Linked DNA regions of Homo sapiens: all the other regions are linked to region 3. Evidence: promoter capture Hi-C in 16 types of primary human blood cells and fetal thymus (Javierre and others, 2016). All regions are on one chromosome and are shown on one strand. Each heading gives the region's core, a stretch centred on a gene start or on the middle of the fragment in contact. The rest is flanking DNA. Distances are from core to core; before and after follow the strand shown.

Evidence for each region. The method cuts DNA at HindIII sites, captures the fragments that hold promoters and counts their contacts. A CHiCAGO score of 5 or more calls a contact.
Region 1: a contact is called between a fragment that was not itself captured here and the fragment with the promoter of LDLRAD3 in region 3, in 1 of 17 cell types (endothelial precursors). The highest score is 6.6, in endothelial precursors.
Region 2: a contact is called between a fragment that was not itself captured here and the fragment with the promoter of LDLRAD3 in region 3, in 2 of 17 cell types (endothelial precursors and erythroblasts). The highest score is 6.7, in endothelial precursors.

What each region holds. Positions count from the first base shown.
Region 1 is chr11:35,848,193-35,851,704 of GRCh38, reverse strand. No RefSeq gene overlaps it. Among named protein-coding and RNA genes, the nearest start is that of LDLRAD3, 94 kb to the left of the region's middle. The HindIII fragment of the contact is 2,030 bases long and covers 1,063-3,092 here.
Region 2 is chr11:35,819,578-35,823,114 of GRCh38, reverse strand. No RefSeq gene overlaps it. Among named protein-coding and RNA genes, the nearest start is that of LDLRAD3, 120 kb to the left of the region's middle. The HindIII fragment of the contact is 741 bases long and covers 1,768-2,508 here.
Region 3 is chr11:35,942,295-35,945,498 of GRCh38, reverse strand. It overlaps LDLRAD3 (low density lipoprotein receptor class A domain containing 3), which reads right to left and starts at 1,437. Exons shown (of 6, transcript NM_174902.4): 1 at 1,355-1,437. The coding sequence starts at 1,400. RefSeq lists a silencer at 1,087-1,526. The HindIII fragment of the contact is 2,245 bases long and covers 742-2,986 here.

The DNA.
Region 1 (3,512 bases), core at 828-3,327, 94 kb after region 3:
GCCCGGGTGTGTGGAGAAGGACTGGGGCCTGCATGTGTGGTGGCAGAGGGAGGTGGTGGCCTTCGGATCCTTGCTGGCTAGCTGCAGAGTCGCTGGTCTGGGCTGCTTCTTGCCCTGGGCCTGCGGAGGTGGCGTGGTCCAAGCTGGCCCCCAGGTGGGGGCCACTGAAGCCTGTGGCTGGCATCCCATGTGGTCTGGTCCCTCTCTTGGCTTGATCAGGTCCTAGACATATTCCCTGCCCAAGCTCCCTCTTGATTCTCACCTATGAGCACCTGTTGTCTTCTCCCTCTTAGCCCCTCCATGGTTGGGGCACTCTTCAGAGACAAGAGGCAACTCATATCCAGTTTACCTTCTAAATCGGTCCTTTCCTTTCCTTTCATTATTATTATTATTATTATTATTATTATTATTATTATTATTATTATTTGAGACAGACAAAGTCTCACTCTGTTGCCCAGGTTGGAGTAGAGTGGCACGATCTTGGCTCACTGCAACCTCTGTCTCCTGGGTTCAAGCGATTCTCATGCCTCAGCCTCCTGAGTAGCTGGCATTACAGGCATGGCCACCATGCCCAGCTAATTTTTTGTATTTTTAGTAGAGATGGGGTTTTGCCATGTTGGCCAGGCTGGTCTCGAACTCCTGGCCTCAAGTGATCTGCCCTCCTCGGCCTCCCAAAGTGCTGAGATTACAGGTATGAGCCACCGCGCCTGGCCTCATTATGATTCTTTTTTTTTTTTTTTTTTTTTTGAGACGGAGTCTCGCTCTGTCACCCAAGCTGGAGTGCAGTGGTGTGATCTTGGCTCACTGCAAGCTCCGCCTCCCGGGTTCACGCCATTCTCCTGCCTCAGCCTCGCGAGTAGCTGGGACTACAGGTGCCCGCCACCACGCCCGGCTAATTTTTTTGTATCTTTTTAGTAGAGACGGGGTTTCACCGTGTTAGCCAGGATGGCTTTGATTTCCTGACCTCGTGATATGTCCACCTTGGCCTCCTAAAGTGCTGGGATTACAGGCGTGAGCCACTGCGCCCGGCCATTATGATTCTTTTATGGGCAATTTCAAGCTTAGAATTTCGAATATAAAATATCAGACAGTGTCCAAACTAGAAAGAGAGGATACACTCAAAAAGCGTTTACCCAAGGAGAACTGAATGAAGGGGCCAAAGAAGGCGTCATCAGGGTTAATGGAACCAAAAAGGGAAAGTGTCACACCCAAGGATTAGCAATAGTGGGAAGCTATTACCACCTCTGCTGCAGGGGCAGAGACCAGGGAGAAATGAACACATGGAAAAGGCACTAACCACCGGAAGCAGGGGCCGGCGAACTATGGCCCGGGAGTCTGCCACCTGTTTTACAGATAAAGTTTTACTGGAAGACAGCTATGTCCATTCATTTACATATTCTCTATAGCTGCTTTGTGCTACAACGGCAGATCTGAGCCCTGGTGACAGACTGTATTGCCCACAAAGCCTAAAATATTTGCTGTCTTATGCTTTGCCAGAAAAAGTCTGCTGATCACTGCTGTTACGGGCAGTGTAACCCCCAAAATCCATACATTGAAGTCCTAATGCCAGTACCTCAGAATGTGACTGTAATTGAAGATTGGGTCTTTAAAGAAGTAATAAAATTACAATGAAGCCATTAAGGTGAGCCCTAATCAAATATTACTGGTGTCCAGTTTTTTGATTTTTCTTGTTTTTGTTGTTTTGAGACAAGGTCTTGGTCTGTTGCCCAGGCTGGAGTGCAGTGGTGCAATCTCAGCTCACTGCAGCCATGACCTCCCAGGCTCAAGAAATCCTCCCACCTCAGCCTCCTGGATAGCTGGAACTACAGGTGTGTGCCTCCATGCCTGGCTAATTTTGTTTATTTGTTTATTTTTTGGTAGAGATGGGGTTTCACCGTGTTGCCCATGGGTGTCTCGAACTCCTGGGCTCAAGCAATCCGCCTGCCTCAGCCTCTCAAAGTGCTGGGATTATAGGCATGAGCCACTAGCGTCCTAATAAGAAGAGATTAGGGCACAGACATGCACAAAGGGAGGACCATGTGAAGATGCAGGGAGAAGATGGCATGTGTAAATCAATGAGAGAGGCCTTAGAAGATAACAACCCTGCTCATGCCTGTATCTTGGATTTCTAGTCTCCAGAATTGTGAGAAATAAATTTATGTTGTTTAAGCCACACTGTGCTACTTTGTTATGGCAGCCCCAGCAAGCTAATATAACTGCTATAGTGGAGCAAAGCTACTGTCAGACCACAGGAAGGCAGAGAGGGTACATGGAGGATAAATCCCCTGACTGTTCCTTCTCCCACTCCTGATCTACTTCTGGTGACCACTATTAGCTCAACTCACCAGAAACCAGCCAACAAAGTTGTCTGGGTGTTTCTATCAATAAAGGTGGCTTCCCAGACCTCAGAGCAAGACACAGAAGGGCAGAGAATGGACCTAGGAGCAAAAGTAGAAGAACCAGGGCATACACAAGAAAGTAGGGAGAAGGGTACCCATCACCCAACTCCAACAATTACCAATATTTTTCCATTCTTGTTTCATCTCTCTCTGATTTTTTTTCTGGAGTATTTTAAGGCAAATCCTAGAAACCATATTGTTTCACCCAAAATTAGCTTAGTATGCATCTACAATAAATAAGAACTGTTAAAGAATGACAATAATGCCAATACCCAATAAAATTAACAGAAATTCCCTAAAAACGTCTCATAGTAGTCTATTCTCAAATGTCCCCATTGCTTCAAAAATATCTTTTAACAGTTGGTCTGTTATAATCAGGAGCTAAACAAAGTTCATGCATCACATTCATGTGTTGACAAAACGGAGTCATTTGTCCCCTTAAAGAACTTCTCACATTCTGGATTTGGCTGTTGGCATCACTGAGTTGTTGCTGAACTTGATCCTCTGTCTCCCGAATTTCCTGCAAACTGATGGTTAGATTTTGGCTTGATTAGATTCACGGGTGGTGTCTTCTCTTGCATCACTTTGCAGAAACAGACTATCTGCTTCTCCCACTTTCTGTAATGTTGAGAATGATCTGTGGGTTCAGAGATGTTAGCTTCCTCTTGCCATTATCAAGTTCTCCATTAAGCTTTTATCTAATGGTGTTAGTTTTTATTGATCATTGCCTGGTCCATTATCTCATTCAGGTTTGCAAAATGCTGATTTTCCAAATCTATCATTCCTTCTGCATTTATTAGGTAGAATTTTTCTACAGAGAAGAATTTTCCCTTACCAACTATTTGTAACCCTGAAATAATTATTACAGAAAAGACATAATACATATACCTGTCTTTTTCTTTATCATCTTTCAGAATACTAAGTCAGTGAACTAGCTGCCAATGATTTTTTCTTAGTATTATTAAGAACTCATAATTTAAACATATATTTAAGGTGTTTAAATCCATTGCAGTCAGTATGTCTTTTGATGCCAAATTGTGCCATCTTTGGCCAGTGGGAGCCCCTTCAGGTTGGCTCTTGTGTCCTTTTGACTTGACACCATTAATATTTCAT
Region 2 (3,537 bases), core at 889-3,388, 120 kb after region 3:
AATACCATTCATAATAAGGTTGCATTATATAAATGTTTGTATATGTAAATGTCCTGTAATGCCCATGGACTTTAATTGCTGCATTTGGCATGGAAAATTGCCAGCTCTGCTACTACTAGTGGTGTGATCTCAGGCAACATTCTTTACCTCTCTGAGCCTCAATTTCATTGGCCATAAAATGAGACTAATTTTTTTCTTGTATTAAAGGACCACATGAGATAATGTATGTAAAAAGACTGAAAACTGGAAAGTACAATAGTTTTTTAGGTATTTAATCATTGTTGTAATTAATAGCCACAGTGAAAATATATTCAAGGACAATGTAAAGATTTGAGCTTACAGTTTCAAATACCAACCTTAAGAATGATCCAGAAATACTAAACTCATGTGTTTTTTTGTTTGTTTTTAAAACTATGACATCTATAAGTTGGAGACATTTGCTTTTTGAGACATTGTCTTTTTTATTATATAATCTTTAGTCCTCATGGCATCCTCTTTAGAGACCAAACAGCAATTAGTGAACTGTTTCAGACAGAAATCTGGATGGTCCAAGATCCTGGATTAAGATAGCTCTCTTTATGAATGCATTTTCAGAGTAAACAGGAAAAGTGTATTAAACCAAGCACTTCATTGTGGATAAGGAAAATCGATATCCTGTGGGTTGGACTGTTTTTAGTCTTACTACAAAAATGGATGCACTATTTATACCTGTTTTCTCCAGTCATGGCTATTAGCTCTTCACTTCAAGTTCACTCACTCAGCCACTACGGTGGAGAGCCAGTCATTGTAGGTTAAAAGCAACTAATGTTAGACCCCTGCTGGCCTGGTCTGGCACTGCACGGGGAAACACAATCTCCGATTCTTATTAGTGGGGAAATTGGTTTACAAAAGCAGAGCTGAGACGCCAAGGATTTGGTTTTGCCTCCCTTGATATCTAGGTGCCAATATGGGAGCAAGAAGAAAAGTGGGATTTGCCTTACAATGGAGAAGTTCTTGAGGAGGAACTGGGGATTATAATCTCCCTTCAGGGCGGTTGGGACTTGGATCAGCCTGCCCCACAAGCTCCCTCTTCATTGCTAACAGCTTGGAGGCTGGCACTGAGCTTTTCCATGTGTTCACACTCATTGTTGGTTGCACTCTCCAACCTCTAGGGGGCGCAGAGGCGTTCGCCTCAGCTTTTTTTTTTTTTTTTTTTGAGACAGAGTCTCACTCTGTCCCCAAGGCTGGAGGGGGCAGTGGCGCGATCTCAGCTCACTGCAACCTCCGCCTCCCGGGTTCACGCGATTCTCATGCCTCCACCTACCGAGTAGCTGGGATTACAGGCATAAACCACCATGCCCAGCTAATTTTTGTATTTTTAGTACAGACGGGGTTTCACCATGTTGGCCAGGCTGGTCTCCAACCCCTGGCCTCAAGTGATTCACCCACCTCAGCCTCCCAAAGTGTTGGAATTAGAGGCGTGAGCCACCACGCCTGGCCTTCAGCTTTTTCATTTTGTTGCTCCAAGACAAGGAGCCGGGACTAGGAAGGGTCAAGGGCACGATGGAGCGCTCAATGATACACGTGATGCGGCTGCTACAATAGGAGTCGTCGACTGTGGGTAAAAAAGCAACCAGAATTACAATGCTTTTCCTTCTTGTGGTCTGTACTTTCTCCTCTTCTCTCGTGAAACTGGAATGAATGGGGCCCAGAGAAAACGAAGCACAGAACAAGAGAAGGATAGCAAGAAGGGCCCAAACAAAACAAGAGCCTCAAATGGGCAAAGCTTTTGTTTTGGGGAAAGGGATCTCGGTTAATGCTCCTGTTTGGTAGAAATCAGACATAACAGGAATGAGGTTAGGGAGTGGTAAAGTGGTAAGGGGCTTGGCTCCACTTCCAACTCAGTGTTTTTGGTTAACATGAATAGGTAAACCCTAAAGGATTGGGATTGGGGAATCATGAGAGATGGGAAAAATCCCACTTTTCTTTGCTTGAACATGGCCTAGCAGATGACCTTTTCTTCTCACAGTAGAGAGCTCTAAGGAAGGTTATCAAAGTCCAAAAGTTAGGGTTTTAACTCATTTGACCTACTCTACTGGCCCTATGACTTGAAGGTCACAGTCGTGAGATGGGATTATACTGAGAACCAGGGTATCGTTCAACAATGTTCCTTGATCTCTTCCTCATTAGGGCTTGTGCCTCTTCAGAGTTTGGCTGGAGTGACACAAATCCACTCTTCCCAGTTAAAGATAAGTCATCCTGATTAGCTTCCCAGAGAATGTTCTGTGATTGCAGGAAGGAAAGTTGTGATTGCCAATCTGAACTTGGAGGCCTCAGTGATTTTCGGAAGCACTGTTTGCTGGGCTGAGTCAGCAGAGACAAACCTAACCTTGATTTTCTGGAGAGTGTTCTTCTACAAGGACAGATCCTCAGACACTTAGCCCGTCCCCTATTAATGAATACTGACGTCATTACCACATTTTTTGCCCTTAAAAGCAATGCTACATGATCATTCTTATGCAAAAAGCTTTGTACCTATGTCATATTTCTTTCAGGAAGATTTCTAAAAATGGGGTTGGATACCACCAAATTTCCTATCCAATAACCTGTTTTATTACTACACCAATCAAGTTATGATAATGATGCTAATATTGATAACTATTTCATTTCTTGATAACTTACTATTTGCCAGGTACGGTTTTAAGCACTTTTCACCCATTATCTTATTTGATCCTCTTATCAACCCAGTGTGGCAAGTTCTATTTTGGAGATGAGGAAATGGAGGCAAAGGGCATATAAGTTACTGGTTTAAAATGACTTAGTAAATGCCAGACCCAGGCATTCTGATCTAGAATGCCTCCCATTATTCACTCAAAGACAACTTACCTCTATTTCAAGAATAGAGAGCTTGGGCAAAAGGCAGCCACTGGGCTTAGTGAAGTTGGCCACTTCACCTGGGAAAGGAAGACAACTGGAAACATTTAATTGGAAAAGTTTTTATTGGAAATCTTGAGCCTTCATTAATAAATCTTTGATGTTGATATAAAAATCCAAGTTCAAGGTCACAAAAGGATTTCACTTCAGCTGTACCTATGCAACCTCCTTTTAAAATGCATAATTCAATCAACACAGTTCTACTTAACCTCTGCCAAACAACTGGCTGAACTGATTTTTTTTCCAGTTAAATTAACTGGTTGTCTTGGTGGTTTTGTCATGTTAGGCTGAGTATTGTGAAGTGAGATGGTGGGTTGATCCAATTCAAGGCCATACTTTGGTTGTGCATTTCTAAAAACAAAGTCACTTGATAGGTGTGAAACATCACAATGAAAACTGGGAGCCAATCAGGCAATAGCTTTTTCCAGGCATGTTTGTTGTCCATGAGCTCTTCTAGATGAAGCTCCTTTATTTCTGGGAGAGGAGTAGGAGGAAGCTGAGGAAAGGGATGAGGAAGAGACAGGAAAGAGAGCTGCCCCAGTAAGTGGGGATATTTATTCTTTATCATTGCTAAATGCTCTTGTTACCTTCTGGTGGGTCTAATAATCTCCTAAGAAAATACCA
Region 3 (3,204 bases), core at 188-2,687:
CCAGACCTGGTTAAAAATCCACAGCAGTCACCAGGAGGTCTAGTCCCTCCCTGGAAGCCCAGCAAACCCATAAGCATCTAAATGGGGTATCAGAGGAGTGGAGATGATGTCATGGGTCTGAGAGCAGGAAAGGCTGCCCAGTGGGCTGTGAGGATGCCCAGGACCAGGGACATCAAGGAAGAGAGGAGATATCCCTTTAACGCATTCATAACTCCAAGGCACAGCTAAGAATGAAGTGAGCCTCAACTTAGCAAACCCACAGGCCACCAAAGACACCTCGACAGCCAAGCTGCTAGAAGCACTTGGCAAAATAGGGCAGCTATTGGACATGTGGATGGCACAAACACCAGGCAGGCAAGATTCTGCTGAAGAAAGTTCACTGGGCCCTGTCACCCACATTCTAGGCATCAGATGCCCAGAAATAAACGTCAAGGGGCCAAGGGCGGGCCCAGTCCAGGAGGGACAGCTGACAGCTGTGGGCGGCGGGCAGGGGCAGAGGAGGAAGGGCTCCCAGGCTGGAATTCGGATCATGCCCACATCAGCAGAAAAGTTCCTGGGAACAGCACGCTGTCTGGAAGGGAAAGAGGCTTGCTGCGGTCCAGGCCCCGGGATGCACACGCGGTGGTGATGCCAGGTTCAAAGGGCCGCCGGATGAAGCCCCGTGTCCTCTCCCAGGGCCCCTCGCCGGTCAGGGCGCCCATCGCGGGGCAAGTAGGGTGGTCAGACGTCTTAAATAAAGCTTCGGTTCCCAGGATCAGTGGGGAAAAATGAATTCCCAGATCCGGCCTTGCTTCAACTCACTTTACCCAAACCAAACAGTCCCAGAGAGGAATGAAAGGAAGCAGCTTTGCTACTCCCTCCGCGGTGCAGGTGGGGAAACTGAGGCACGGAGTGCACGCCAGAGACTCGGGAAGAGGCCCAGAGGAGGCTAACGCAGCCGCGCGCGACCAGGCGTCTGGGAAGATGAGACCAGGGAAGAGTTCTCTCCTCTCCTCTCCTTTCCTTTCCCCGCCTCCGTTCCTCAACACACACAACACACACACAGCCACACTCGAGCTACGCCCAATCGGGGCAGCCGCCGGGCTCCCCAGACCCGGACTGCACACAGAGCCCCGCCCGCGCACACAGCACAACACGACCCGGCGCGCACGCCCACACAATAGGACGGCTCGCACCCCGCGGCGGCCCCTCGGCAGGGTCCGGGCCAGCCCGGCGCCGGGGTCCGCCCTCCGCGCTCACCCACGCCCGGAGAGCGGCCCGCGCCCGGGAGAGGACGCGATCGCACCCGGCCGCTGCGCCCCGCGCCCCGCGCCCCGCGCCCCGCGGGAAGTTCGCCGGCCGCCCCCCGACTCACCCGCGGCGCTGCTCAGCAGCAGGCACAGCGGCCCCAGCAGCCACATGGCGCGGCCGCCGCTCCCGCTGCCCGGCGTCGTTGCTGCCCCCGCGGCCTCGGCGCTGACCCCGCCCCTCGCCGCGCCGTCCCCGCCCTCCCGCCTGGCCCTCCTCCCTCCCGCCTTCCCCGGGCCCGGCCCCGGCCCGGCTCCGCTAAGTTTTGCAAGCGCCTGGGCTGCGCGTGGCCACCCGCATGTTACCCTGGGTGTCCTGACTCCGAGGGGCCGCCGAGCGCGGCGGAGGGTTCAGCCTTTCGGTCTCTCAGCCTTTCAGCCTCCCAGGTCTGGCCGCGAGGATCTTCTAACAGCCTGGGCTCTGTTCTCTGCTTCCTTTTGTCCCTCTCATTTCTGCCTTTGCTTCCACACCCAGCGAGATGCAGCGCCCAGACCAAAACTTGAGTTCTTTACTCAAACTACAAAGTGAGTTTACTACCGAGAGAGAAAAAGTTAAAATAAAGGGTCAAATCTTATGAGAAAATTGTAGTATATTTTTAGTAGCGAGTGTGGAATACCAGTGCTTCTCAAACTTTAATATGCATCCGGCACACTTGACGATCTTGTTAAAATACTGACTCTGGTTCAGTAGATCTGGCGTGGAGCCTGAGATTCTGCATTTTTAACAACATGGTGGCTGATTCCAAGGCTGATGATCCGGGAGCCACCGGTAAGAGCAGCTGACACCTACCATGCACACAGCGTGGACCACATGAGTTATTTTGTCTGCATAGTGTCCACCTTGACCTGTTGAACGTTTGGGACCCAATTTGGAAAAAATAAAATTAAAAAAAGGAAAAGGTCATGAAAGGCAGATACCCAAATGCAAAAAATATAGCTGCACCAATGCACTTGCTTCCAGAGGGCACTGGTGAAAAGCCCCAAAAGACTTAGATGGTGGAAGAAGGGGATGACACTTCTGTGCTCCACTCTCTCTGATCCCCCACCCAAAAAAAGCAAAAGACTAACGCAAATAATTGCCAAAAACTGGAAACAACTCAAGTGTCCATCAATTGATAAATGGATCAATAAATTAAAACTTTTGGGGGCAGTGGGACTGTTCTAATCTTGATTATAGAGGTAGTTACACAACTGTATACATTTGTCAAAACAATAGAACTGCATCCCTAAAATCCACCCCTCAAAAGGGTTGAGTTTATTTACACAAACTCCACCTGGCTGAAAGAAAGGGGAAGGTATGGGTACAGGGGCAGTTATAAAAGGGATGCCTGCGTCAGATTTTGGGATGCCCTGGAGACACCCTCAAGGGTGTTAAGATTCAATTACTTTACTCTGTAATTGCGTGCTGTAGTCTGGAAACATAAAGGCTAAAAAGGATCAGGTCAAAATTTAAAAATACCAATGATTGTTCAAGGTAATGAGAAAATGTGATGTGAGGGAGGAAAGGTTAAGTTCCATAGTTCATAGTACACATGGAAAATATAAATCAATTATCTAAATGATTTGGCATTCGGGGCTTTTATCCTGGGATTGATGAATATTATGGAGATCGTCCCATGGGCTTCAAAGAATTTTAAAGCCCTTAAAATTTTATGCAAAATGTCCTGTGCATGTGGGTATGTGCATTGTTCCGGGAAGCTTGTTGGGAAGAGGCCTCCTGCCTTTGATAATAATATCTGAGGAGGCAAATAAGCAAATAATTTCTCCTACAGCTGCTCATTTGCCTCCAAACATTAGGGATACGGAAAGATAATGCAACTGACCCACTGCTATAGTTCTTATTTCCTTAGGTTTCTTTGGACACATCAACTTCCTTACTTTGCAAGTTTGACTCTGACTCTCTCTCTCGTTCTCTCTC